Linked DNA regions of Homo sapiens: regions 1, 2 and 4 are each linked to region 3. The links are contacts of gene promoters, found by promoter capture Hi-C in blood cells and fetal thymus (Javierre and others, 2016). All regions are on one chromosome and are shown on one strand. The core of a region is centred on a gene start or on the middle of the fragment in contact, and the rest is flanking DNA. Distances in the headings are between cores, read along the strand shown.

The links. Contacts are between HindIII fragments. The CHiCAGO score rates a contact against its expected background, and 5 or more counts as called.
Region 1: a contact is called between the fragment with the promoter of ZNF20 here and the fragment with the promoter of MAN2B1 in region 3, in 8 of 17 cell types (erythroblasts, fetal thymus, naive CD8 T cells and 5 more). The highest score is 11.3, in erythroblasts.
Region 2: a contact is called between the fragment with the promoter of ZNF878 here and the fragment with the promoter of MAN2B1 in region 3, in 1 of 17 cell types (monocytes). The highest score is 5.4, in monocytes.
Region 4: a contact is called between a fragment that was not itself captured here and the fragment with the promoter of MAN2B1 in region 3, in 7 of 17 cell types (naive B cells, erythroblasts, total CD4 T cells and 4 more). The highest score is 7.9, in naive B cells.

The regions. Positions count from the first base shown.
Region 1 is chr19:12,134,904-12,141,668 of GRCh38, forward strand. It overlaps ZNF20 (zinc finger protein 20), which reads right to left and starts at 5,447. Exons shown (of 4, transcript NM_021143.4): 1 at 5,277-5,447; 2 at 866-1,001; 3 at 597-657. The coding sequence starts at 5,279. It overlaps ZNF625-ZNF20 (ZNF625-ZNF20 readthrough (NMD candidate)), which reads right to left. Exons shown (of 8, transcript NR_037802.1): 5 at 5,277-5,422; 6 at 866-1,001; 7 at 597-657. RefSeq lists silencers at 3,216-3,318, 5,024-5,233. The HindIII fragment of the contact is 6,979 bases long and covers 1-6,005 here.
Region 2 is chr19:12,051,093-12,058,569 of GRCh38, forward strand. It overlaps ZNF878 (zinc finger protein 878), which reads right to left and starts at 1,869. Exons shown (of 4, transcript NM_001080404.3): 1 at 1,707-1,869. The coding sequence starts at 1,709. RefSeq lists a silencer at 1,465-1,514 and an enhancer at 1,703-2,208. The HindIII fragment of the contact is 8,690 bases long and covers 934-7,477 here.
Region 3 is chr19:12,660,950-12,668,010 of GRCh38, forward strand. MAN2B1 (mannosidase alpha class 2B member 1) reads right to left here and starts at 5,793. Exons shown (of 24, transcript NM_000528.4): 1 at 5,594-5,793; 2 at 4,754-4,856; 3 at 4,403-4,576; 4 at 3,843-4,036; 5 at 2,754-2,886; 6 at 2,368-2,513; 7 at 311-427. The coding sequence starts at 5,752. It overlaps WDR83 (WD repeat domain 83), which reads left to right and starts at 5,858. Exons shown (of 11, transcript NM_001099737.3): 1 at 5,858-6,043. RefSeq lists enhancers at 3,463-4,411, 4,412-5,359, 5,016-5,065, 5,126-5,255, 5,276-5,405 and 2 more and a silencer at 5,656-5,935. The HindIII fragment of the contact is 17,009 bases long and covers 3,333-7,061 here.
Region 4 is chr19:11,877,243-11,884,587 of GRCh38, forward strand. No RefSeq gene overlaps it. Among named protein-coding and RNA genes, the nearest start is that of ZNF69, 6.9 kb to the right of the region's middle. RefSeq lists an enhancer at 4,079-4,258. The HindIII fragment of the contact is 2,118 bases long and covers 3,613-5,730 here.

The DNA.
Region 1 (6,765 bases), core at 4,197-6,696, 530 kb before region 3:
ACCCTGTTGTCCAAATTGGAGTGTAGTGGTACCAACATGGCTCACTGCAGCCTCAAACTCCTGGCCTCCAGCAATCCTTTGGTCTGAAAGCCCCAAAGGACTGGCATTTGGGGGTATGCGCAACAGTGCCCAGCCCAGCGTATGTTACATTTAAACATATGTTTTTAGGAAAACTTTCTATGAATACATAAATTTGATACTGGGCTTATTTCTTTTGCTTCTTTTTAACATTTTCTCACTTTTTTTTTTTTTTTGAGACGGAGTCTCGCTCTGTCACCCAGGCTGGAGTGCAGTGGTGCGATCTCGGCTCACTGCAAGCTCTGCCTCCCAGATTCAAGCAATTCTCCTGCCTCAGCCTCCCAAGTAGCTGGGACTACAGGCATGTGCCACCACGCCCAGCTAATTTTTTTGTATTTTTAGTAGAGACAGGGTTTCACCATATTGGCCGGGCTGGTCTCGAACTCCTGACCTTGGGATTCACCCACCTCGACCTCCCAAAGTGCTGGGATTACAGGCGTGAGCCACTGTACCCGGCCTATTTTCTCACATTTTAAGATTTTCTAGAGGCATTGCCTTGTCTTGCGAGAGAAAATTACCTTAGATTTCTCCTGGGATTTTTGTACTCATCTTCAATGTTCTGAACTTTCCATGTTTTTCCTAAAACACAGACCCGGAGAAAACACAGATCCAGAATTAGTATGAATTTATTTAAAAATCATTAGATTCTGTATTCATGGTACATGGTAGCCATGCCTGATTTATTCATCAAAGTATTTTTTGTCCATGTTCCAAATCAATGAACAGCATTGATGAGCTAGAAGCATTTGTTCTCTAATTCACTGGGAAGTAATATTGTCATTCTTACCTACAGAGGTCAGGTTCTTGAAGGTTTCCTGCATCACATCCCTGTAGAGATTCTTCTGGGAAGGATCCAGCAAAGCCCACTCCTCCTGGGTGAAGCTGACAGCCACATCCTCAAAGGCCACTGAATCCTGAAACATCTCACATATATAAAAGAGGACAGGTAAGACTAACAGCCCTGGAGGCCTATACTTTATTCCTAAGAAGTTCTCATGATACTGTGGACTCCAAACATTTATCCCATGACTTGGTCATCACACCTCTTACTTTCTGTCTATACTCACGTCCTCCCACAAACCAACCCTTTTTTTGTTAAGAGAGAGGGTCTTTGGCCAGTCGCGGTGGCTCACGCCTGTAATCCCAGCACTTTGGGAGGCTGAGGCAGGCAGATCACTTGAGGTCAGGAGTTTGAGACCAGCCTGGCCAACATGGAGAAACCCGTCCCTACTAAAAATATAAAAATCAGCCAGGCGTGGTGGTGGGTGCCTGTAGTCCCAGCTACTCGGGAGGCTGAGGTAGGAGAATTACTTGAACCCAGGAGGTAGAGGTTACAGTGGGCCGAGATCGCGTCACTGCACTCCGGCCTGGGCGACAAAGCAATACTCCATCTCAAAAAAATAATAATAAAATAAATAGGCCAGGCGCAGTGGCTCATGCCTATAATCCCAGCACTTTGGGAGGCCAAGGTGGGCGGATCACCTGAGGTCGGGAGTTCGAAACCAGCCTGACCAACATGGAGAAACCCTGTCTCTATTAAAAAAAAAAATACACAATTAGCTGGGCATGTTGGCACATGCCTGTAATCCCAGCTACTTGGGAGGCTGAGGCAGGAGAATCACTTGAACCCGGGAGGCAGAGATTGCGGTGAGCTGAGATTGCACCATTGCACTCCAGCCTGGGCAACAAGAGTGAAACTCCGTCTCGAAAAAATAAAATAAAATAAAATAAATAAAATCTATACTAATCAAGAGAAAATGGTATTAACAGATGGAAAGATAGACTAATGGAAAACAGCAGATTCTGAAAATAGTGAAACCACGACAAAGCAGGTATCACCAGCCAATTATGCAAGTGGTCCTCACTTACCAGAAGGAACAGGGACAGATGGTTACCTACAGGAGAACAAACAATCTTTGAAGCCCATCATCTCCATATGAATTAATTCTAGAGTTGCCTGTTACCGTGACTTCTTATGTTACCTTACCATGCATTTTCATTATGGGTTTCACTTTCTTATAACAGAAGAAACCCGTACTCAAGCCGTGTGTAGTGGCTCATGCCTGTAATCCCAGCACTTTGGGAGGCCAAGGCAGGCCAATCACTTCAGGTGAGGAGTTCAAGACCAGTCTGGCCAACATGGTGAAACTCCCTCTCTACTAAAAAACACAAAAATTAGCCGGGTGTGTGCGTGCCTGTAATCCCAGCTACTCGGGAGGCTGAGGCAGGAGAATCGCTTGAACTCGGGAAGCGGCGGTTGCAGTGAGCTGAGAGAGCGCCACTTCACTCCAGCCTGGGCGACAGAAAGAGACTGTCTCAGAAAAAAAAAAAAAAAAGAAGAAGAAGAAAGCTGCACTTGACCTCAACAGTTTCCAGTTATCCACCTCCTCCCAGTTCCTGCATGTGCTCAACCCACATATGTGACTTACACAGCTGCCTCCTGGTGACGACCTCACTGTGGAAAAGCTAGACAGACCAACTTGACTTGCCCCACTGACCCTTATACCCACGTGGATGGCACAGACCACCTGTTAATCACAGCCTGACTTCACAGAACTAGCACCTGCTTGCTCCAAATCTATCAGAAACAACTCCCTAAGAGAAACCTCCTTGGGCATTGCCCTGGACCCCAAGAAAAACTCTGGCCCAAAAGTCCCTGTCTGTCTTTCTCCCCACCTGCTGGTTGAATGTGCATCCTGGATGTTCCCCCCACTCTGTGTTGCCCTGCAAGGTGTGCTGCCCTCATCTGTCTGGGATGTGATAATGCACTGTTATGTCATGGCTTTATGGCTTTGTTGAGATGACTCTGCTGTGGCTCACTTCACCTACACCTTTCCCTTAATAGCAACATCCAACTGGCTGACCAGCTATGTGTCTCCAAATAATGGAAGCTGGGACTGGGGGAGAAAAACTGAGCATCCCAAGGGGTTGGCTATCTAGATGAAGAGTGTACCAGGAGTCTCCTCCCATTTGGGAAATTCAGTTGCTCCTTTGGGAGATCCCACACCCTGCCTCAGGCTATCCTCTGGGAGGACTGACACAGGGGCTGATATTCAGTAGGCCAGGAGAGATGGGAGCTGTGGGCATTTTGGTTCAGCCCCAGGCGGTTCTGAAACCCAGGACCAGGAAAAGATAGATTGGGACTCCTGAAGACACATCACCCTGTAAAGTTTTCAAAAAGGAAACAGGCCAGGCACGGTGGCTCACGCCTGTAAAATTCCAGCACTTTGGGAGGCTGAGGCAGGCAGATCATTTGAGCTCAGGAGTTCGAGACCAGCCTGACCAACATGGTGAAACCCCATCTCTACTTAAAATACATGGGGTATGGTGGCGCATACCTGTAAACCCAGCTACTCGGGAGACTGAGGGCAGGAGAATCACCTGAACCTGGGAGGCGGAGGTTGCAGTGAGCCAAGACCACGCCACTTCAATTCAGCCTGGGTTACAAAGAGAGACTTTCTCTCAAAAAAAAAAAAAAAAAAGGAAACAACCCAAAGACATTCTGAGATGGTGTCTGTGCCTTACGAAGATAAGAGGAGAGGAACAGAGGTTTTTCACTGGAGTATCAAGTGGTTATTCTCTATTCTATGTGAAATGTTCAGAAACAGAACACAAATATTTTAAAAAAAGTTATCCATGACCTTGTGAAAAGATGATAAACCACTAAAATACTGCATCTATGTGAAAGAAAGGATGAAGAAATATACTCTACAATAAAGAAAGTTGATACAGGAGGCTGAGGCAGGAGAATCACTTGAACCCGGGAGGCAGAGGTTGCAATGAGCCAAGATCATGCCATTGCATTCCAGCCTGGGCAACAAGAGCGAAACTCCGTCTCAAAAAAAAAAGAAAGTTGATAATACTGTGAGTTGGAGAAGGGGAGTTAATGTTTGGAGATGCGGAAAAGTAATTGAAAATTTAAGATGTTACTGCAAACTGCTGAAGAGTTAGGGCGGGGTAGCAGGGTGGAGGATTTGAGACCCATACATTAGGAAAATGCAGGAGGAAGCCAGTCCCTATAGACAGTGTGAAAAAATTTAAAGCAGCAGCAATTAGACTGAAGTGTGTTTAGTGCTATAAGAAACTACCTAAGGACACCAAAATCAAACTCAAATTGAGGCAGGAAAATAGGGTCTGGACGCAGGGAACATAAGGCCTATTCAAACTTCAGCTATGAAAGGAAATACCTACTCCATAGGGCGTAAGCCAAGTAAATGATTTTATAACCTTACTTCATCCTCTCCTTTTACATAGAGTATACCCCAAGTAACCAATGGAATCCTCCAGGGGGTATTTAAACTCCCAAAAATTCTGTAACGGGGCCTTTGAGCCCCTGTGCTCAGCCCCGCTTGCACACTGTGGAGTGTTAAATCCCTTCATTCCTTCCTTGCTTTGTGCGTTTTGTCCAATTCTTTGTTCAAGACGCCAAGAACCTGGACCCCCTCCACCGTTAACAAAATGCAATTCTTCTTAAAACTTTCTGGTACCAAAACCACAAATCATGACTGGGCGTTTCTCACTCATGAATCGCTGTTTGCTCAAACTCTTTAAATTTTTTTTTTTTTTTGAGATGGAATCTCGCTCTGTCCCCTAGGTTGGAGTGCAGTGGCGTGATCTCGGCTCACTGCAACCTTCGTCTCCTGGGGTCATGCGATTCTCCTGCTTCAGCCTCCTGAGTAGCGGGGACTACAGGCGCATGCCACCATGCCCGGCTAATTTTTTGTATTTTTAGTAGAGACGGGGTTTCACTGTGTTAGCCTGGATGGTCTCGATCTCCTGACTTCGTGATCCGCAAGCCTCGGCCTCCCAAAGTGCTGGGATTACAAGCATGGTCCACCGCGCCCGGCCCAAACTCTTTAACAGAAAAAAAAATCCGCAGGATTCCCCCATGACCCTCCCGTGGTCCCCGCAAAATCTGAAGAGACGCGGGGCTGCAGGCGCGGAGCTGCCCAGAGAGGGCTCCAGGGTCGGGGCCCACAGTCGCCCGCGCAGGAACAGAACAGGAGGACGCCCGGGGTCCCGGCTGCCGGCCCAGCCGCACCCTGCGGCCGAGGGGACGCAGGGACGAGCTGAGACAGAGGGATTCGGGTCCCAGATCCAGGAGGCGCGGCGAGGAGGCCCAGATCCCACCACAGCCGCTTCCGGCCGGTTCCACCCAGCCCCTCCCCCGTCTGGGGACTCCGGCCCCATACACTCACCATTTCCCGGCTTCTGGGTGTCCCGGTGTCCTCTCTAGGGCTCCCGTGAATAGTGCGGGTCACGGTGCAGGCGGCAGAGCGACAGAAGTTGTGGCAGAGGGACCCGGGGCCTCTCGGAGTAGGAAATCTGGTATCCCGACAACAACCTGCATAGCAACAAAAGTAGAAGCTGGAATGGGCCTCCTCCTTCCGGACGGACCGTTGGCCGGGCTCCGCCCCGGCGCTTCTGATTGGACAAGGTACAAGGCCCCGCCCCCTCAGAACTGAGTGACGGCAGAAGCCCTGGGTAACGAGCCCTGCAAAGCCGGACTGATCGGTTCTAGCCACAGCTTCTCTCTAAGGGACAACTCCTTCCCTGAGCCCTGGTCATTGGATATTTTCTTTTCAGCCAAATTTGCTCCTGATTTTTACACAGGGCACTATCTTCTTCCTCATTCAATGGGCTGTCAGTGCTTCTTCGTCCTGCACAGGGTTGTAAGTGTGTGCAGGGAATTCCAGACTGAGTGTCCAATGGAGCGATGTGCTGACCTCAGAGCAGGAAGGGGAGCCCAGATCAGGCCAGGCACGACTGCACCAAGAAGGAGAGGCAGTTGTCCTTCAGGGGCCCGGAATTAGGGATGAGACATGGCCAAGGCTTTCACACATCTCACCCCACCTCACAGTGTGGAAACTCTCCCTCCTTCCAGACCTTCATCTTCATCGGCAGAAAACTCTCACTTGGTGATTTTAAGCTTCTGACCTAAATAAACTGTCAACTGCATAAGCCCCTTCTCCAGGAGAGGTCCCAAACAGTTATTTCCCTGAACTTGATCTTTACGGATTTTCTTCAGATATGCAAATTACAGTCTGACCCCAGGGACTCTATGCATGTCAAACCCAAAACACTGCTCCCGAAAACCGCCCCAGATTCCAGATGTACAGCCGCAGAAAGGACAGAACTCCTGAAGTGCACCTGCACGTGGGTCTCCTGCTTTCCAGGGCGCTGCAGCATGTCAGAACCCACACTCTTTCTGGATCTGCTCTGAGCAGCTGCAAGCCACCTGCAGGGGAGGGCGGCTGCCCAGGAAGCACCCAGAACTCCACTTCACTCCTTGGCAGGATCCATACTAGCCTCAGCGTCCCGTCCCTGGCGTCGGTCTCTGCTGCCCCCTGCAGGTTATTCACCTGCTTCTCACATCATTCATCAGTTTCCATGAGACAAACATCCTCAATCCCACTGCGAGAATAACACACGAGCAAAGCTCTCCTCCAGTGTGTATGTATAAAGTCGAGGAGGAAGTGTCCAAGATTATTTAACTGCATGAAAGTGAGGCAGTAGTGGCTGGGCGCTGTGGCTCAAGCCTGTAATCCCAGCACTTTGGGAGGGCGAGGTGGCTGGATCACCTGAGATCAGGAGTTGGAGACCAGCGTGACCAACATGGTGAAATCCCGTCTCTACTAAAAATACAAAAATTAGCCGGGTGTGGTAGAGCCCACCTGTAATCCCAGC
Region 2 (7,477 bases), core at 619-3,118, 610 kb before region 3:
CTCAAAAAAAAAAAAAAAAAAAAAAAGAAAAGAAAAGAAATTAAAACCCCTTGCAAAGAAAATTTTAAAGTCCTGGGCCGGGCGCGGTGGCTCACGCCTGTAATCTGATACAGGAGAATCGCTTGAACCGGGGAGGCGGAGGTTGCAGTGAGCCGAGATTGCGCCATTGCACTCCAGTCTCGGCAACAAGAGCGAAACTCCGTCTCAAACAAACAAACAAAAAAACCTGTAACTAAATTGTATAATTAATTTAGTTGTACTAATTAGTTGTATTAAATTAATTGTACAATTAATTTAGTTGTACTAATTGTTGCGATAATTAAATTTCTTTGTTTTTTGCCTATATAAGAAGGAGCTTAACTTTTTTTTTTTGAGACAGTCTCATTCTTTCACCATGGCTGGAGTGCAGTGGGGCATTCCACTGTAATCCCAGCACTTTGGGAGGCCGAGGAGGGTGGATCACGAGGTCAGGAGTTCGAGACCAGCCTGGCCAATATCATGAAACCCCGTCTCTACTAAAAATACAAAAATTGGCCGGGCGCAGTGGCTCACGCCTGTAATCCCAGTACCTTGGGAGGCCGAAGTGGGCGGATCACAAAGTCAGGAGGAGTTCAAGACCAGCCTGGCCAATATGGTGAAACCCGTTTCTACTAAAAATACAAAAATTAGCCGGGCGTGGTGGCTGGCGCCTGTAGTCCCAGCTACTCGGGAGGCTGAGGCAAGAGAATCGCTTGAACCCGGGAGGCGGAGGTTGCAGTGAGCCGAGATGGCGCCACAGCACTTCAGCCTGGGGCGACGGAGCGAGACTCCGTCTCAAAAATATAAAAATCTGGTAAAATAAAAACAGGTCTTTTGGGGAAGGGGGCGGGGACTGGGATGGAATAACGTGGCAGATAACAGCCCTCCTTCCTACAGCCTCCAAATTTTAGACAAAGCTTTACACACTCTCAACCAACTGCCACCTACAGAATCCCTCCACCACCTGTGCCTTCTAACCCCGCTTCCATGTGTCCCGCCTTTCGGCCAAAGGAACTTACACCTTCCCGGCACTGATTCATCATTTTCCTGCAATTCCTGTCTCCCTGAAATGAATAAAACCAAACTGTCAGGAGCTGCCTCGGGATTGCTTACTCCAGACTTCGCGGGGTTGTGTTTCCCTCAGCCGAGGTCTCTCCTATTCGGCTCAGAATAAACTTATTCTACACGATTTGGGTTTTTCCGTTACCAAACCACAAGCCAGGACTGGGAGTTTCTCATTCATTAATCGCTGTTTGCTAAAATAAACTCTCATTTTTTAACAGTGCCTCAGTTTAATTTTTAACTGGAAAAAAAAAGGAACTGGGGACCCCACAGCCCACAGCTCCTCCCACACGAACCCCACACCCGAGGCAGGATCCCCCATGACCCTTCCATGGTCACCGCACAATCTGGGGAGACGCGGGGCTGCGGGCGCGGAGCTGCTCAGAGAGGGAGCCGGGGCCGGGGCCGCAGTCGCCGCGCAGGGACCGGACAGGACGCCCGGGGTCCCGGCTGCCGGCCCAGCTCCACCCAGCGGCCGAGGGGACCGAGGGCCGAGCTGCGCTAGGGGGACTGTGTCTGGAGCCCAGAGTCGCTGCAGGGGGGCCCGGGCCCCGCCACAGCGGGTTCCTCTCGGTTCCACCCAGTCCCTCCTTTCGCCTTGGGACTCCCCAGCACCGCATGCTCACCATTTCCTGGCTTCCAGGTATTCTGGCGTCCTCTCTAAAGGTCCCGTGAACAGTGCAGGTCACAGCGCAGTCGACAGAGCAACAGCAGCTACGGCGGAAGTAACTGGTCCCTCTCGGAGCAAGAAAGCCCCAGACCTTAACTAGCGCGAGCAGCCCTAGGAGTGAAGAGAGCGGGAATGCAACCTCCCCTTCCCTGGAGGACAGTGGCAGGGCCCCGCCCTAGCGCCCCTGATTGGATAGGGGTCTAGACTCCGCCCCCTTCCCTGAGTGACAGCAGAAGCCCCGGGTAACTGGGCGCTGCAGAGCCGAAGCGACTGGTTCTGGCCACACTTTCCAAGGTCAGCTCCCTCCCTCCCTCCCACCTTTACTTCGAATATTTGCCTTCGGCCAAACTTGCTCCGAACTGCTAGAAGGGACACTGTTGTCTTCCTCACTCCGTGGGCCGTCCCTGCCCCTTCATCCTACACGGGACACAAGTGTGCAGGGAATTCCAGATTCAGTGTCCACAAAATGTGAAAGACATTAAAATATTTTGCCCCAAGATATTGCCCTGCCAAAATATATTTCTTTGACAGTTTTGAAATGGCTGCTGCTTGGCCAGCAAACAAAAGGTGGCCTTGCAAAACTGTCTTTTGAGGGGGAAATTTACATTTGTAGAGAATCTCCGTTAATGAAGCACTGCCAGCTCCCCCGTTCTTTTCCTTTCCCTGATCTAAAAGCTATTGAGAGTTTGACACCTTTAAAATCTGAAGAGAGGTAGCACATGGTGACTCATGTCTATAATCCCACCACATTGGCAAACTGAGGCGGAAGGATCCCTTGAAGCAAGGAGTTTGAGGCCAACATCATCAACACAGCGAGATCCCTGTCTTTCTTTCTTTTTTTTTTTTTTTTTTAGACAGTCTCGATCTGTCGCCCAGGCTGGAGCACAGTGGCACGAGATCTTGGCTCACTGCAACCTCCGCCTCCCAGGTTCAAGCGATTCTCCTGCCCCAGCCTCCCAAATAGCTGGGATTACAGACATGCGCCACCACGCCCCGCTAATTTTGTATTTTTAGTAGAGACGGGGTTTCTCCATGTTGGTCAGGCTGGTCTCGAACTCACGACCTCAGGTGATCCGCCCGCCTCGGCCTCCTAAAGTGCTGGGATTACAGGCGTGAGCCACCTCGCCCGCCGATCCCTGTCTTTATTATTTAAAATTTTTTTAAATGGCCGGGCGCTGGCCGGGCGCAGTGGCTCACGCCTGTAATCCCAGCACTTTGGGAGACCGAGGTGGGCGGATCACGAGGTCAGGAGATCGAGACCATCCTGGCTAATACGGTGAAACCCCGTCTCTACTAAAAATACAAAAAAAAAATTAGCCGGGCGTGGTGGTGGGCGCCTGTAGTCCCAGCTACTCGGGAGGCTGAGGCAGGAGAATGGCGAGAACACGGGAGGTGGAGCTTGTAGTGAGCAGAGATCGCACCACTGTACTCCAGCCTGGGCCACAGAGCAAGACTGTGTCTCAAAAAAACAAAACAAAACAAAACAAAAAACCAGTGGCCGGGCGCAGTGAGACCAGGTCTCTACCAAAAAGATAAGTAAATAGATTAGGGCCAGGCATGGTGGCTCATGCCTGTAATCCCAGCACTTTGGGAGGCCGAGGTGGGTGGATCACTTGAGGTCAGGAGTTTGAGACCAGCCTGGCCAACTTGACGAAATCCCATCTCTACCAAAAATATAAAAATGAGCTGGGTTTGGTGGCACACACCTGTGATCCCAGCTATTCGGGGGGCTGAAGCAGGACAATTGCTTGAACCCAGAAGACGGAGGTTGTAGTGAGCAGAGATTGCACCATTACACTCGAGCCTAGGTGACAGAGTGAGACCTTGTCTCATAAAAAGGAAAAAAGTCTATTCTCTGGGGGAGACATCATCTACGTAACAGTCCACCTCTAGCCAAGCCTCTTCCTTTCTCAGTCTACTAAGCTGTCTTGCTACTAAACCTAATTTACTGACCTCAGGTCGCTATATAATCTTCTCTGTCTTATAGCTGGGTGTGTCTTCATTCTGAAGGTTCCCATGTATACATGTTAAATACATTTGCATGCCTTCTTTTCTATTAATCAATCTGCCTCAGATCAATTAGTTTTCAGCAAACCTTTAGGACACGAAGAGTCTATCACCCCCACAAAGCCATCCCCTTGTCTCAGGGCAGGAGGGGAACAAGGCCATGTATGACTGCTCCAGGAGGGAGAGACAGATCTCCTGCAGTGGGGCAAGAATCGGGATGAGGCATGGCCAAGGTTTCCTCACATACACCCATCTTCTCCTCACAGTGTGGAAACTCCCCCTCCTCTCCACACCTTCATTTTCATTAGCGGGAAACTCTCACCTGGAGTCAGTTTAATCTTATTACCAGAAAGGGGTACCAATCCAGACCCCAAAAGAGAGTTCTTGGACCTCATGTAAGAACAAATTCAGGGTGAGTCCATAAAGTAAAAGCAAGTTTATTACAGAAGTAAAGAAACAAAAGAATGGCTACTCCATAGACAGAGCAGCAGCATGGTCTGCCTGACAATGTATACTTATAGTTATTTCTTGATTATGTGCTAAACAAGGGGTGGATTATTCATGAGTGTTCTGGGAAAGGGGCAGGCAATTCCCAGAACTGAGGGTTCCTACCTCTTGTTATACCACATAGGGTAACGTCTGGATATTGCCATGGTATTTGTAAACTGCCATGGCGCTTGTGGGAGTGTTTGTTAGCATGTTAATGCTTTATAATTAGTGTATAATAAGTAGTGAGGACCACATAAGGTCACTTTCTTTTCTTTTCTTTTTTTTTTTGAGACAGAGTCTCACTCCCTCGCCCAGGCTGGAGTGCAGCAGCGCAATCATAGCTCGCTGCAGCCTCTCTGCCTTCCTGCAGCCCCTGCCTCCCAGGCTCAAGCAATCCTCCCAGCTCAGCCTCCTGAGTAGCTGAGACTACAGCCACAGGCCACCACAATCAGCTAATTTTTGTATTTTTTGTAGAGATGGGGTATCACTGTGTTGCCCAGGGTGGCAGAGGTCACTTTCGTCGCCAACTTGGTTTTGGTGGGCTTTGGCTGGTTTCTTCAGCGCATTCTGTTTTATCAGTGGGGTCTTTATGACCTGTATCTTGTGATACCAGTCCTGCCGACCTCCTAGCTCATCCTGTGACTAAGAACGCCTAATCACCTGGGAATGCAGCCCAGTAGGTCTCACCCTTATTTTACCCAGCCCCTATTCAAGATGGTTTCACTCTGCTTCAAACACCCCTGACATTATGACTTAAATAAAGTCAACTTTATAAACCCTTTGTTCATAACACAACCCAAACAATTTGTTCTCTGAGGCTGACCTTCACAGATTTGCTTCATATATATCAATTACAGTCTGTCCCCAGCGACCCTGTGCATGCCAAAACCAAAACACTGCCCAGAAAATAGCTCCAGGCCTGAAGGTACCTCTGAAAGGTACAACCCCAGATAGGACAGAACCCCCGAGCGCATCTGCACGTGGGTCTTCTGCCATCCAGGGCTCTGCAGCTTCCCAGAATCCACACTCCTTCTGGAGCTGGAGGCCACCTTCAAGGGAGGGCGGGCTCCGGGGGAAGCCCCCAGGAGTTTGCAAAAGGAGCCCCCTTTCCCTCCTTTTGCAAACTCCAGACTAGCCTCAGCGGGGAGTCATTGGCCTCCGGCTCTGCTGCCCCCTACAGGTTATTAAGCCGCTTCTTACCCCATTGATCAGTTCCTAGAAACAAACACCCTCAATCCCAGTGTGTGAATAAGACGCCAGCAGAGTCTCTGCTTTCCTCCTGTGGTGCTTTTTTTTATTTTGTTTTGTTTGTTTGTTTGTGACGGAGTCTCGCTCTGTCGCCCAGGCTGGAGTGCAGTGGCGCGATCTCGGCTCACTGCAAGCTCCTCCTCCCGGGTTCAGGCCATTCTCCTGCCTCAGTCTCCTGAGTAGCTGGGACTACACAGGCGCCCGCCACCACGCGCGGCTAATTTTTTTTTTTTTTTTTTTTGGAGACTGAGTTTCACTCTTGTTGCCCAGGCCGGAGTGCAGTGGCGCGATCTCGGCTCACTACAAGCTCCGCCTCCCGGGTTCTCGCCATTCTCCTGCCGCAGCCTCCCGAGTAACTGGGACTACAGGTGCCGGCCACCGCGCCCGGCTAATTTTTTGTATTTTTAGTAGAGACGGGGTTTCACTGTGTTAGCCAGGATGCTCTCGATCTCCTGACCTCGTGATCCGCCCGCGTCGGCCTCCCAAAGTGTTGGAATTACAGGCGTGAGCCACCGCGCCCGGCCTCCTCCTGTGCGTTATGTATGACATAAGGAAAAACAGGCTGGGTGCGGTGGCTCATGCCTGTAATCCCAGCACTTTGGGAGGCCAAGGCGGGCAGATCATGAGGTCAGGAGTTCGAGACCAGCAGCCTGGCCAACATAGTGAAACCTCGTCTCTTCTAAAAATACAAAAAATTAGCCAGGCGTGGTGGCAGGCGCCTGTAGTCCCAGCTACTTGGGGGGCTGAGGAAGGAGAATCGCTTGAACCCGGGAGGGAGAGGTTGTGGTGAGCCGAGATCGCGCCACTGCACTCCAGCCTGGGCAACAAGAGTGAAACTCAGTCTCAAAAAAAAAAAAAAAAAAAAATTAGCCAGGCGAATAGCTTGAACCTGAGAGGTGGAGGTTGCAGTGAGCCGAGATGGCACCACTGCACTCCATCCTGGGCGACAGAACGAGACTCCATCAGAAAGAAAAGAAAGGAAGGAAAAAAAGAAGGGAAGGGAAAGGGACAGGAGGGGACGATAGGGGAGGGGAGGCGGTCGGGAGGGATGTGCAGCCCAGGAGGAGAAGGAAGGGGGCCAGGGAGGCTTAGTCAGTGGGCGGTGGGTGTGTGGGTGTGTGTCCTGTCAGCTTCACATTGTCCAAAGGATCAGAATTCAGTTGTGAGTTTATGAAAGTGAAAAGCAGGGAATGGCCTTTCTGGAAAACACATACTTCAAAGAAATGGGCTCAGTTCTTTCTTACTCAGATTTTGAACAACTCATTTTCACAACCCCAAACCCTCTGCAGGTCACATTTCCTCCTCTCATTTTGGTCTTGGCCTGAACCCTACCTGCTCTCCTTGCACCCTTGTTCCCAGCAAACCGAGGATTGGGCTGCTTATTCTCTGTGCCCAATAATGAGATGCAGATGAACTGGGAAAGAAGAGTTGCTTGCTTTATTTATTTTTTTTATTTTTTTGAAATGGAGGCTTGCTCTGTCTCCCAGGCTGGAGTGCAGTGGCGCGATCTTGGCTCACTGAACCTCCACCTCTCTGGTTCAAGCGATTCTTGTGCCTCACTCAGCCTCTCGAGTAACTGAGATTACAGGCATGCACCACCACGCCTGGCTAATTTTTGTATTTTTAGTAGAGACGGGGTTTCACCATGCTGGCCTCCAACTCCTGGCCTCAAGTGATGTGCCCGCCTGGGCAGCCCAAAGTGCTGGGATTACAGGCGTGAGCCACCGTGCCTGGCCTAGGTTTTTAACGGTATTCCTAAGGAAACACAAATCATGGCATGAGTGTGTCCTCTCTAGAAAAAGAATTAAATACAATGGTTGAAGTAAGAGTAGAAACTCCACCTTGGAGTCTTCTCCCTTAATGTGACACAAACATCATAGGTGAGTCTTCCAGACACGATTCCGCCACAACTTTTTTTTTTTGAGGCAGAGTTTTGCTTTTGTTGTCCATGCTGGAGTGCAATGGCACGATTTCCACTCACCG
Region 3 (7,061 bases), core at 4,543-7,042:
CGTTTCACCATGTTGGTCAGGCTGGTCTCGAATTCCTGACCTCGTGATCTGCCCGGCTCAGCCTCCCAACATGCTGGGATTACAGGCATGAGCCATTGCGCCCGGCCTCATGCTGGACTTCTTACCTACAGAACTGTAAGACAATGTATTTCTGTTGTTTTGAGCTGCTAAGTGTGTGGTCATTTGTTATAGAATGACCACAATAGAACAATAGAAAACAAAGACAGCACTGAGAGCTATGCACATAACCCAAGGCCCCCGGATGCAAGCGCACATGTGCACAAGGGTACCACAGGGTAGGCGCACTGACCTGCGCATTTACCAGCCGGATGAGCTTGTCAAGGTTCTTGAACCACATGTTGGCATTCTCATATTGGAAGTCCGAGCCCATGGTCATCACAGTGTGGTTGGTGCGGTAATACCGGCCCTGCAGGCAAGAGGGGAGTCCTGAAGCCAGAGGATCCTGGGCCATCCCTGTGTATAGCTGTGTTTTGATGTATATGGGGTCAAGGATGTTGGGTGCACAGGCATGGGTGGGGGTATGGCACTTGGGAGCGTGGGGACACAGATAAAAGTAGCCACCAGTTGTTGAGCAGTTCTCTTGGACCCACTACCTAGAAGAGGGCATCCAGTCACCATGCCATGCTATCTCTTGCCCAGCCTATGCTATCTCTTCTAATGAGGAATGCACATAAATCCAGGAGGGGGACATTGTGATGGTGAATAGAATAGCATCTTCCTCCAGGGGGCATGAGAACATGATTACAGGGGCTCACACCTGTAATCCCAGCTACTCAGGAGACTGAGGCAGGAGGATCGCTTGAGTCTAGGAGTTTAAGACCAACCTGGGCCACACAGCAAGACCCTGTCTCAAGAAAAAAAAAAAAAATTAATCTAAAACAATTTTTTTTTTGAGACAGAGTTTCACTCTGCTGCCCAAGCTAGAGTGAAGTGACGTGATCTCGGCTCACTGCAACCTCCACCTGCCAGGTTCAAGCGACTCTCTTGCCTTAGCCTCCCAAGTAGCTGGGATTACAGGCGTGCGCCACCACACCCGACTAATTTTTGTATTTTTAGTAGAGACAGGGTTTCGTCATTTTGGCTATGCTGGTCTTGAACTCCTGACTTCAGATGATCTGCCCATCTCGGCCTCTCAAAATGCTGGGATTATAGGCGTGAGCCACCATGCCCAGCCATCAATTTTTAAAGAAAGGAAAAAAAAATTTTTTTAAGGAGAACGTGTTATGCCAGGCATGGTGGCTCACACCTATATCCTAGCACTTTGGGAGGCCAAGGCAGGAGGATCACTTGAGTTCAGGAGTTTGAGACCAGCCTGGGCCACATGGTGAGACCTTATCTCTGTGAAAAAATAATGTTTTTTAATTATAAAAATGTTAAAGGCTGGACGCGGTGGCTCACGCCTGTAATCCCAGCACTTTGAGAGGCCAAGGCTGTGGGTCAAAAGGTTAGGAGTTCGAGACCAGCCTGGCCAATATGGTGAAACCCCCTTTCTACTAAAAAGACATAAAACTTAGCCGAGCATGGTGGTGGGCACCTGTAATCCCAGCTACTCGGGAGGCTGAGGCAGAAGAATCGCTTGGACCCAGTAGGTGGAGGTTGCAGTGAGCCGAGATCGTGCCACTGCACTCCAGCCTGGGCGACAGAGTGAGTCTAAAAAAAATAAAAAAGGAATTCTCAATAAAAATGTTAAAAATAGACTAGGCACAGTGGCCCACACCTGTAATCCCAGCACTTTGGGAGGTTGAGGCGGGCAGATCACCTGAGGTCAAGACCAGCCTGGTCAACATGACGAAACCCTGTCTACTAAAAATACAAAAATTAGCTGGGTGTGGTGGCAGGTGCCTCTAATCCCAGCTTCTTAGGAGGCTGAGGCAGGAGAATCGCTTGAACCCGGGAGGCGGAGGTTGCAGTGAGCTGAGATCATGCCACTGCACTCCAGCCTGGGTGACAGAGCAAGACTCTGTCTCAAAAAAAAAAAAATAATAATAAATAAATAAAAATGTTAAAAATAGAGGCCAGGTGCGGTGGCTCATGCCTGTAATCCCGGCACTTTGGGAGGCCGAGGCAAGCAGATCACTTGAGCTCAGGAGTTTGAGACCAGCCTGGACAACATGATGAGACCCCAGTGCAAAAATACAAAAATTAGCTGGATGTGCTTGTTTGAACCCAGGAGGCAGAGGTTGCAGTGAGCCGAGATCGCACCACTGCACTCCAGCCTGGGTGACAGAGTAAGACTGTCTCAAAAAAATTAAAAATAAGGAGAACGTGTTAGGGGATGCCTGTACCATGGAAAGAGCTCATTGTATTGTATATACCGGACTCGAAGGTTCTGGACACCAGGGTTACCTGGGCAGTGGCCACATTTAGGAAGTAATCGACCAGCTCCTTGGCGTTGTACTCGGGGCTGCGAGGGTCCTCCACCAGCGGCTGATCGACACACAGCACATCCCAGCACAGATTCCTTGGCGGGTTGTAACCATTGGGAAGCACACCTGCAGGTCACACCAAGTTCAAGGGGTGGCCCATCACCCAGACCTTCCCTGGTTTCAAAGCCGGCCATGTCCCACCCAGGATGGGCTTCAGAATTTGTGTCCCAATGCAAAAGGAAATGCAGGGCCTTTGTTCCCAGACTATAGGAATTCCAGGACAGTGACAACAGAGCAGATATCAAGCCCAGGGCCCTTCTGAGTGTGTGGCACCATGGCTGGCCCTGCCCTCACCAAGCCCCCTACCAGTGAAGAGGTCCGCGGTCGGGGGCTTCAGGCTGGTGCTGGCCCGCCACACCTGCTCCATCTCCAGCTTCTGCATCCGTACCCACTTATCTTGATAATCAAGGCGCCCAAAGAAGAAGCCGTCGAAGCCCATCTGGGGATGAGGGAGGAAAAGGCAGTGTGAATTAGTGCCCAGCCCTCTCACCACCAAACTCCCCTCTGCTTGGGAGGGGCAGGTCAGAGCACAGGTTAAAAAGCAGTGCTAGGTCGATGTGGTGGCTCTTGCCTATGATCCCAGCCTTCTGGGAGGCCAAAACAGGAGGATCACTTAAACCCAGGAGTTTTTGAGACCAGCCTGCACAACACGGGCAGACTGTCTACAAAAAATTTAAAAATTAGCCAGGCGTAGTGGTGCGCTCTTGTAGTCTCATCTACTAGGGGGGCTGAGACAGGAGAATCGCTTGAATCCGGGAGATTGAGGCTATAGTGAGTTAGGATTGCACCACTGCACTCCAGCCTGGATGACAGCAAGACCCTGTCTCAAAAAACAAAAACAAAAACACGTAGGGCTGAAACAGAGAGGCCTCCAGCTTATTTCCAAGCTTGGGGAAGTTTCAGAACTCACCACCTTGGGCTAGCAGGGAGAGGGCGGGTCCAACATCAGAACCCAGGTTCACCTCCCCAGCACTGTCAAAGCGCAGAGCAGGCCTGACTCCAGGAATGAGGTTCCCCCTTCCACAGCCTGAGGATGGATGGGGTCTGAGCACAGGTAATGAACCTGTTTTTAAGGCAGCCTAGGCATCCACTTGCCACCCGGTTTAGGGAGGAGCCAGGACCCGAGCTAGTGGGTGGGGCCAGAACACCAAGAGGGGCCTATTAGGGGAGAGGGCGGAGCCAGCCGGAGCTGGGTCAGCCTGGGCTGGGCATAGCCGGCTGAGGCCAGAGCTCAAAAGCCACTGGCTTTACGGCTCACTCAAGGGGCAGGGCTTCAACAGGCCTAGGCCTGGGCCTGGTCCTTGTGAGATTGCAGGGAGAGGGCGGGGTTTGACTGGGCGAGGGAGGAGCCAGAGTGAGTGAAGAAGTGGGCCCAAGAGAGGTCCCGGGTCGCACCTGCGCAAACAGCGAGGCCTGCTCCCGAGAGTGGCCGAAGGGGTCAATGTGCCAGGCCACACGGGGTCGCCCATCATTGCCAAATGTGTCCTCCAGAAAGCGCAGCCCAAGTGTCATCTGGTCCACGATGGCACCGTAGTGGGTGGCTGCCTCATCGTTCATCACCCAGCCACCATTGGCGAACTCCAGGCGCCCTGTGCCAGGACAGGCAAGGTCAGGGTCAGCGGTCAGAGCCAGGAGTGGGAGTAGGGTGGGTGATACTGGGAATGTGAAAGCCTGCCTGTGTACACATTTCTGGCGGAAGGACAAGAGGGGTCGCTCCCAGGCCATAGTTCCCAGATATGGGAAAGAGGCCCCCTGCATGGCAGGCTTCCCAGAGGATGCACAGCAGGTGGGGCTTTGTGGGATGTATAGGAGGTCTCCAAATGGAGAGTCCAGGCAGGCGGAGCGACACGCATGTTATACAGCTTGCACGTGGCATGACAAATCTCAGAAACCAGAGATGCAGAAGCAGAAGCTGGGCTGGGCTTCCTCTTTTCACTTCCTTGGGGTAGGCTCACCCTGGCGCACAAGGTCTCGCACGACTTCCTGTGTGGCATTTGTCTGCTGGTGCCACCAACGGGAGAAGAAGGCAATCTCCACGTAAATGAAGCGACGGGTGGGATCTGCCAGCAAGGCAGAGATGACCGAGTCCAGGATGTACTGCACACCGGCGTGCTGGATGTCATTCTTGACTGTGGATAACAGGGATAAGGCTCTCAGGGAACAGCAGAGCCAAGGGGGTTATTCCTAGACAGAGGAGCCCAAACCCTGGATATTAGGGTAGCACTGGCCCCACCCTAATGTCCAGGACCCAGAGGGATTACAGGGACCATGGGGATCCCAGGGACCAGTCCCCATCCTCTACTCACTTCCATAAAAGTACTGGTCCACGGTTTTGAGCCAGCCCACGTCATCATGTGTGTGAGGCAGCAGGTGCACGTTCAGCATGTTCGGCTGCACTGTGGGGCATGTCTGCACAGGGACCCCAAACACACATACCTTGTCAATAACCCCCGAGGTCGGGGGCTGCAGAGTAAGTCTTGATCTAGAGGTGAGTGACTCAGAGAGGCCTGATCTCGCCTATGTGCAGAGGAGGCCAGGCCCTCCCAGGCAGGACACACACATACATAGTTGTGCTCATAGATACAACTCCACTTTGCACAACCCCACAGGGCAGCTCTCATTCACACTCCGGGAAAATAATAATAGAAGTAGCTGATGTTTGTTCAGCATTTGCCGACAGCAGACGGCCACCGTGGGAGGTGGGGTGATGTTATCCCCAGTTTCCAGATGAAGGCACTGAGGCTTAGAGAGGATAGGTGACTTGCCCAACGTCACACACTCAGGAAGTGTAAGAGCTAGGCTGGAATTTCAGGCAGACTCCAGAGTCCCAGCTCTCAGCCAGCACCTCCCCCCACACATACACTGCTCACCCCCTGCCACCTCCTGCCCCTCCAATCCCACAGTTAAGTGCAGACAAAGTCTAGGCAAGCATCCCGGAGACACGGAGGCAGGTACAATCAGACACAGTCCTATACTCAGATGCGCACAGCCAGACCTCGCAATGACACAAAGCACGCACTCAGACCACACTGTCATATCATCAGCCATTCACTAGACACCCACAGGACAGACCCACCCACACCTCTAGACTGTATTCTGGGTTTCACTCTGCCTCCTGTACGTTTCAGCTCGGAGGCCCCACTCACCTCGTATCCCCCGGCCCGAGCACCGGCAGCCGCCAGCAACAAAAGGAAAAAGCAGAGAGGCGGGAGCGGTGGCCGCAGGGCGCGGGACATGGTCCAGGGGCCTGCTGAGTCCAGGCAGCCGCGAGCGCAGACCCCCGAAGCCCGCGCGTAGGCGCCCATGGCTCAGCAGCTTCCTCCTGGGGTTCCCCGGCCCTGGAAAGGCCGGGCAAACGCCCCGCCCCCAGACCCGGCCGGGCCAATCGGGGTGGGGGGCGGGGCCAGGGCGCGGTCTGGAGGCTCACGGGAGAGAGGCTGTAGCCCTGGGCAATCCCGGGGGTCGTTACAGGAAGGTAGGAAAATGCCACCCTCAGGGCACTGGTTGGGCTAAAGGTGACACTGGCGTCTCACGGGCTATGAAGACGGAATGCCTCTTAATGCCGGAATTCCAAGACGGAATGCCTCTTAATGCCGGTAGGAGCAGAAGTGCTTTTCCTAAGGGGGCCGGGTTTTCCTAGCCGGTGTAGTGTGTCCATGGGAATCCAGGGTGTCCGTCCCATGGACCTTCAGCGCTAGGGTCCTGGAAGGACCTAGCTTGCCTAAGAGGAGGATCTGATGAAGAGTCCTATACTGTGGGGATTGGGACGTTGGGTAAATACCCCTGGAGTACCAGGGATGGGATCCAGCCTGGTTGAGAAGGATCCCTGGGTGTTCCGGAGAGAAAAGAGGGTCTGACAAGTGGGGAAGGACCCCGAGTCTTTCATGCCTTTCCCAATTCCTACCAGTTCATTCTCTGATAAGAAAACAAAGCCCAGGGCAGGCGCAGTGGCTCAAGCCTGCAATCCCAGCACTTTGGGAGGGCCAGGCTGGTGAATCACTTGGGCCTGGGAGTTTGAGACCAGCCTGGGCAACATGGGTTGTTTTGTAGAGACGGGTTTGAAAACACAAAATTTGTAATTTTACACAAAATGTAAAAATACAAAAATTAGCTGGGCATGGTGGCACATGCCTGTAATCCCAGCTACTTGGGAGACTGAGGCAGGAGAATCACTTGAACCTGGGAGGCGGAGGTTGCAGTGAGCCGAGATCAAGATCATGCCATTGCCCTCCAGCCTGGGCAACAAGAGCAAAACTCTGTCTCAAAAAAAACAAGAATTAACTGGGCATGGTAGCACGCATTTGTGGTCCCAGTTACGTGGCAGGCTGAGGTGGGAGGATTGCTTGAGCCCAGGAGTTTGAGGCTGCAGTGAACATAGATTGTGCCACTGCACTCAGCCTGCATGACAGATCAAGACCATTTTCTTTCTTAAAAAGGAAAAAAAAAAAAGGAAACCAAAGCCTAGATTATCTAGGTCAGCAGGGCCATCTGGTGAGTTGCCAGAGGGCAGAAGTCACTGTCTTGTCCCTAGCACCTGACTTAAGACACAAGGTTTATGAAGTAAGCAAATGAACAGCCAGAAGCCTCCAGACTGGGGCCCCACACCAGGCCTAT
Region 4 (7,345 bases), core at 3,422-5,921, 780 kb before region 3:
TGAGAACAGGTTTGCCTCATAGACAACTGCTGGTGATATTAGTGATAGCCTACCAACTAGGGACTAAAAAGAAAGTTTTTCTTTTTTTTTTTTCTTGCTTTTTTTTTTGAGATGGAGTTTTTGCTCTGTTACCCAGGCTGGAGTGCAATTATGCAATCTCGGCTCACTGCCAGTTCTGACTCCCAGGTTCAAGTGATTCTCCTGCCTCAGCCTCCCAAGTAGCTGGGTTTACAGGTGCGTGCCACCACATCCAGATAATTTTTGTACTGTTAGTTAGAGATGGGGTTTCAACATGTTGGCCAGGTGGTTCTCGAACTCTTGACCTCAGGTGATCCACCTGCCTTGGCCTCCCAAAGCACTAGGATTACATGCATAAACCACCACACTCGGCCTCTCATTCATATGTGTGTGTATATTCTGTTTTTAATAAAAATAGAGACTAGGCCTATGTTGCCCCGTGTGGTCATAGCCCAAACTTTTGGGCTCAAGCGATTTACTCACCTCAGCCACCCAAAATGCTGGGATTAAGGCATGAGAAACTGTGCCAGGGCAAATGAAAGAAACTTAGTGGGAGGCCAGGCACGGTGGCTCACACCTGTAATCCCAGCACTTTGTGGGGCTGAGGCGGGTGGATCACCTGAGCTCAGGAGTTCAAGACCAGCCTGGACAACATGGTGAAACCACATCTCTACTAAAAATACAAAAAAATTAGCTGGGCATGGTACTCCCATTCTCACAGTCATGCAAAGGCTCTTTCTTAAGGATTCCACCTGCTGGAAAGCATTATATACTGCCTGCACTGACTCAAGAGTGTCTGGTTTCATCTCCATGTCATAATTACAACCACAATCCTAAAGGGACTGATTTACCACACTGTGGTTGCCGTAAGTCCCAAATTGTACCCTCAGCAGCAACTATATCATCCCAAGTCACAGCTCTACCCTCTAAAGGTGTGCCTGAGGCTTGTGCCTGCCATACTAACACATTAACCTGTCCAAAGCTTCCTTCAGAGCTGTGTCCCAGTCCCAAAGTGCCCCTTTCTAAAACATTGGGCTAAGTGTCAGATAAATGCTCTCCAATAATCCAAAGACCAACAAATGTCTGGATTTTTTTTCTTAAGAGAAATAGTATGGCTCTGTTTCCCAGGCTGGAGTGCAGTGGTGGGATCATAGCTCACTGTAGAAACTCGGGCTCAAGGGATCCTCCTGCCTCAGCCTCACAAGTAGCTGGGAGTAAAGGCACATGCCACTATGCCCGGCTGTTTTTAAATTTTTTGTACAGATGGAGTCTCACTCTATTGCCCAGGCTGTTCTTGAACTCCAAGGCTCAAGTGATCCTCCCACCTCAGCCTCCCAAAGTGCTGAGATTACAGTTATGAACCAATGCACCCAGAACTCAAAAAGGAATATTTATAAGGGAAAATATCTAATGTTCAAATTGTTATGTATAGAGCAGTTAACGGGAACTATCATTTAGGGTCTATGGGATTCTAGGACACTAGGTATGAAACAAATATGAGGAAGGTCAGAGAACAAGCTGACTTGATGATTAATGCTGAAGGTGCCGCAAGCTTGGTTTAAGTTTTCCTCCTCCCATCCTCCCTGATGAATTTGATAAAGTTTAAAGGGATGGTTTCACCGGGGGCTTTTTCCACTGACTGCAAGGAGGTGATCCCGCTTGGTAAATCTTCAGTAGGCCAAGCCTCTTACGTGGCTAGAATGATCCAGTCCATAAGGAAATGTCACCACCTGCTGTATTTTACACTTTGACCATCAAAGGGGTACAGGGTTTCCCCAGGGAGTTTGGTGGGATTTTAATTTTTTGTTTGTTTGTTTTGAGACAGTGTCTTGCTGAAGCGCAGTACCCAATTATAGCTCACAGCAGCCTCAAACTTTGGGGTTCAAGTGACTCTCCTGTCTCAGCCTCCTGAGTAGCTGAGACTGTAGGTACACACACTTCTCCTTGGTAATTAAAAATTTTTTATGGAGATGGGAGGGTCTCACTTCACGGCTCAGGGTGGTCTCCAATCTCGGGCTTCAAGCGATCCTCCCACTTTGGCCTCCCAAAATGTTGGGATTACAGGCGTGAGCCATGGCACCCGGCCTCCCAGGCTGTTGTTTGAAGGTCTTTGCAATCTCTAAGAGTTCTGCAGCAATTTATTCCCTGACAGTGAGAGTCTCATCCTTTGACCCCATTTTGCCGCAGTAGCTGAACGTTCACTTTTCTTTCCATAAGGGGGCGAGCTTGCCAGTGACCCTAATCCCTCTCCTCATCGATGACTTCTTTGTCATCAGAGCCTTCCTCTTCATAAATTCCCACGGAATCCAAGTTTTCACGTCCCAATCGGGCTTAGTTATGATAGCCACAGGCCCACACCAGCTGCCACAGCACCCCTGTCCCATGGAAACCGCCTGACTCTCTTCTCCCCAAGCGTCCTGTCCCAGGAGCCCCCATCATCTCTGCTCCCCCGGGCTCCAGGCCCTAGAGCCGCGCTGCTGCAGAGCCCGGTTCCCAGGGCTGCTCCCTCCATATATCCACATTCATCTCCAGCTCTCCACCCTCTCTCCAACCAGCCAGGCCCGGAGGTACTGCAGTGTCACTGAACGTGCGTCCCTCAGCTGCCACCTCCACCACGATCTGGAAATCTTTTAAATGCACTTAAGTTATCTTAGAATTTTCCTTCCCCACTTTATACATAAACATAGGAGGAGAGCAGGGACTCTGCTGGTGTCTTATTCACACAATGGGATTGAGGGTGTTTGTGTCATGGAACTGATCAATGGGGTGAGAAGTAGCTGAATAACCTGCAGGGGGCAGCAGAGCCCGAGGCCGGTGACTCAACGCTGAGGCCAGTGTGGAGCCTGCAAAGGAAGGGAAAGGAGCCTTTCCTGGGGGCTTCCGGGCAGCCCGCCCTCCCCTACAGGTGGCCTCCAATTGCTCAGAGCAGCTCCAGAAGGAGTGCGGATTCCGAGAAGCTGAAGAGCCCTGGAAAGCAGAAGACCCACATGCACACGTATGTGTGGGGGTTCTGTCCTTTCTGGTGTTGTACCTCTGGAGCCTGGGGCTGTCTTCTGGGCAGGGTTTGGGGTTTGACATGCATGGGGCCACTGGGGTCAGATTTGTAAGATACAGTGAATTTCTTTAAGTTTTTCTTTAAAGATTTAGCCTGCTAACTTCCTCGTCTTTTGTTCTCAAACTCAACTTTCCTGTTCCTCCTTGCCCCTAGTTACTTTAAAACAGCCTACCCCGTTCCCATCAGCTCTAATCAATAACTCACATCTGTTCCCTTGGTTACCTGTACCCATTGTTCCCCCAAAACTGCACATCTCACATGCTCCACCTCTGTACCTCACATCCCCCTCCCCTTCTATATTTAGAAAAATATGTACAAGCAGCCAATCGGGTCAGCTCAGACTGTGCGGTCCGACCCCAGCCCATGGGGGAGTAACACAGAGATAGGGACCGCATTAAGGATAAAAACCTCCTGGTCTCCTTTGTTCTCTGTGCTCTTGTGATCTTGATTGACGTGAGTGGCACCCTTCTGCAGTAGTAAATTGCCTTGCTGAGAGAATTAAAATTTTGCCTGAGTGCTGGTTTTACTTCACGGCACCAAGCTTTTATTCCGGGAGCATTTTATATCCAACAATTCTAGGGGATCGTCCGAGATCCCCATGCTCCTTTTGGAAGAGTTCTTCAGTCACCCTACCCTGGGGAGACGCGTCCCACTGCCCCATTGCGGTGGCCTCAGGGACAGGAGATCGAGACCCACCCATTTTGACGAATAAACCCGGACTCTCAGCAACGCGGGGAAGAGAGGCTTGCAATACCGCAGCGACCAGGTAAACTCTGTGCACAGACCAAGGTGGGAAACGTTGCAGGGGCAACAAAGTAATTCTTTGGTAGTCGGAGGGGTGTGTCAGGGCATTCTGGGGGTTGAAAGTGCATGAATGGTAACAAGCACTACTGCTGTGCGGAGCGAGTGAGTCCAATCTGCGGTTCTGTGGTCACCTCACACGGCTTAGGGCAGCCCTGCGGGGGTCCTGTCACAGGTTTATACGGACCTGCCATCAATGCTAAGAGGAACCTGAAACAAACCTGCGAGGGAAGCGGCCAGAGTGGATGAAGCGAAAGAAGGGTGCAAGGAACCTCCAGCAGGTGGAGCTAAAGGATAGTGGAATTGAGCCTTAGCCACACTTCCAGTGAGGGATAGGCAAAAGACCTCCTAATATGAGGGGTTGAGCCACAAGGAACCCCCCAAATAGGCAAGAGATCCTTAATTTGAGAGGCTGAGCCACAAGGAACCCCCAAAATAGGCAAGAGATCCTTAATATGAGGGGTTGAGCCACAGCAAGCCCCCCTAGGCAAGAGATTCCTATCACGAGGGATTGAGCCTAGCCAGGACCCAGTATAGGAAATATTACAAGCAAAAAAGACAAAGTTAGCAACAAAGATATCCCCCCTAATAGTCCCCTAGGTCTCATGTTAAAACATTAGAAAGATAATGAAAAGACTAAACATAAGAAAAAGCAATTAGTGATAAAATATTGCTGTTCCATTTAGACTCAAGAACGAATCCTTGAACCCTTAGTTTTCTGGCCAGAATTTAAGTCGAATGAGGGATGGATTTGTGAACTTCTAATAGAAAATGTTGCTAGTAGAAGACCTGCCTCCTGAGAAGAAACAAATTATGCCCTATGTTAGTTGCAAGGAGTTGTCCTTTCCCCTCCTCCAAGGATTGAAAGGAGCAAGTCAAAAACTAATATTTGGAGGAAAATGAGTTGTACATGTGCCCTATTAAGATAGAACCATCTTTAATGAAAAAGACAGTGAAGGAAGGGGCTTGGGGGATCCTAGCAAAAAGAACAACTCGCAAGATCCCCTAGACCATTCCCCACCTAATACCCAACCCTTCCCCTCAGGCATCGCCCAGTAAGTCTGTTCTTCCCCAGCCTAAGTCCCTCTCCCCTAAAGAACTCCAAGCTCCTAATTCACCAGATGGCTTTTGCCAGGCTAGCAACATGAAGGATCTGCCGCAACATGTTGTCAGCGTTGTCTGGCCCATAGTGCACCCCTGCAGCGGCAAAGCCCATGCTCCTGCCCACTGGCTGGTCCAAGGTCCTGGCACTGTATTGACGGCAGCTCTGCATGACATGCGAGCCAGGCCCCAGCCTATGCCCCATGCAAACTACATTATAGGATATCTGCCTTACTTTGCTGAGGCTAAGTAATACGGGGCTTCAGCGATGGCTCCAAGCAGCCTGGCATCCCCGCAGCTAAGTTTCCTGAGCAAGAAGTAGATAATCTTTCAGCGGATATATCCACTAGCATTTATTATAGTCAGGCCAGTGTTAAAAGTGAAAATATCCACCAGAAAAGAACTCTGATTCTTTAAAGTCACCTATGTTAAAATGTACCACCAAAAAAGAATTACATGTGTATAAATATGAGGCTATTCTGTTAAAAATGATAGTTTAATGTTACTAGTAATTTGCTTAACCTAACAAGTTTCTTAACGAAAGATCCAAATCTAAAAAGGAAGCACACATGTTTAGATTTAACTGATTACCATACAAATGTCCGGCCAAACTTAAGAGAAACCCCCTTCAAAAATGATTAAAGGAAAAAGGATTCAACAGATGTTCAATAATAAATAGAGAAGTTCCTAGAGAAATAAAATTTAAAAATTGTTTAATAGTTTACCCAAATTTGTAAGCTGTTTGCACTTAGTCAAGCTTTAAAGTAACTGCAAAGGAACCATCTATACTAATCTATATTGATTCTAAATACACCTTTATCGTGGCTCATACATTTAGAAAATTTCAGACAATAATAAAGGTCAAAGCCTTGTTCATGAAGAGTTAATAACCCAAGTGTTAAATAACCTTCAGTTACCAGAAAAAAAAAAAAAGCTATTTTCCACGTCCCCAGGCACCAAAAATCCTATCTTTCAAGAGTTAAGAAAATAACCTAGCAAATCAGATAATCCGAACCAGCTGCCGTTTCTCCTGTAGGCACTGAAGGGAATTCAAATGTTATTTAAACCTCTTATGAAAGAAGTCCTATCCCACCTAAATTAGAGGACCCATTAAAGACCTCAAGCTATGTATAGCACAGTTAAAGTTTATATGTGTATGAAAATGTACATCCTTAGCCAAACAAGTCTAGAAACTTAGTTGCCATAACTCAAATGTCTTCTGTCTTCCTATTAATCCAAACTACCTCTCAAAGCAATCCACTGCCAACATTCCTACATACTTGGTTTATCTTCCACTTTCTCTTCCCTCAAAACTCACAATTTTCCAGTACAGGTGCGGCTCCTGGAGTTCCCAGTGCGTCAACACCGGCCTGAGGAGCTGGCCTAGTACTTCCCACCATTGAAACTGCAGTCTGGACAGCAGAGAAAGGATAGACCCATCACACCCGAGTCAAGAAAGCACCGCCACCCCCAAAGTCGTAGGCCATTATTCCAGGGGAAAACCCCCTCAAACTAAAGCTAAGAAAAATTTAACCTCTTACATCTATTCTATTACTCTTTCTTCTTTTCCCCTTCCAATGCTGACCACCTTGTCATTAATGTAACTCAATCAAACTCACCCCAAGTTATCACGTTTAATGCTATGTCTAGTCATACCCTGTAAAGATCTCCAAAGTCAAAGACAAGTCTCAGCCTCAGAAAAGTATCTCTGCCCCTTTAAGGTGAAAGGCCCCCCCTACCAAGACTCTTGTTCCTTAACAAATATAAGAAAACAAGTCTGTCATAGCTAGAATGATGTCCTATGGACAACCAAATGTCAAGGCTAGACCTCATCAGCAGGTGGCTGTATATCCTTAAAACCATACATTCATTTCACTAAAAAAAGCACCTCCCCAATTGCCAGTATAATCAATGTAATCCCATACAAATTTCCACCTCTACTGACCCTAAACCTACTTTAAGTCACTTCTATGGAACAGGAGCCAACTTGGCCAGCACAGACCTCATAAGATCTTTCGAAATGCGTTTTATTAATCCTTCATTCTCTTCACCCCCTTCCTTCTCTTCTCCTTCTAAGCTTTCTTCTAATCAGACTGCCACCTGTTTTCTACCTAATGATACTACTAAAGTAAATATTGTAGAAGTAAAAGATTTAAGACAAACCCTAGCAATTAAAACAGGATATCAAGATGTAAATACCTGGTTGGAATGGATTCAATATTCCGTCCGCACATTGAACAAAAGCAATTGTTACGCTTGTATGCATGGCAGACTAGAGGCCCAGACTGTTTCCTTTCCACTAGGATAGCCCTTCAGCCGACCAGGCATAGGCTGTATGGTAGCTCTTTTCCAAAATTCCACAGCCTGGGG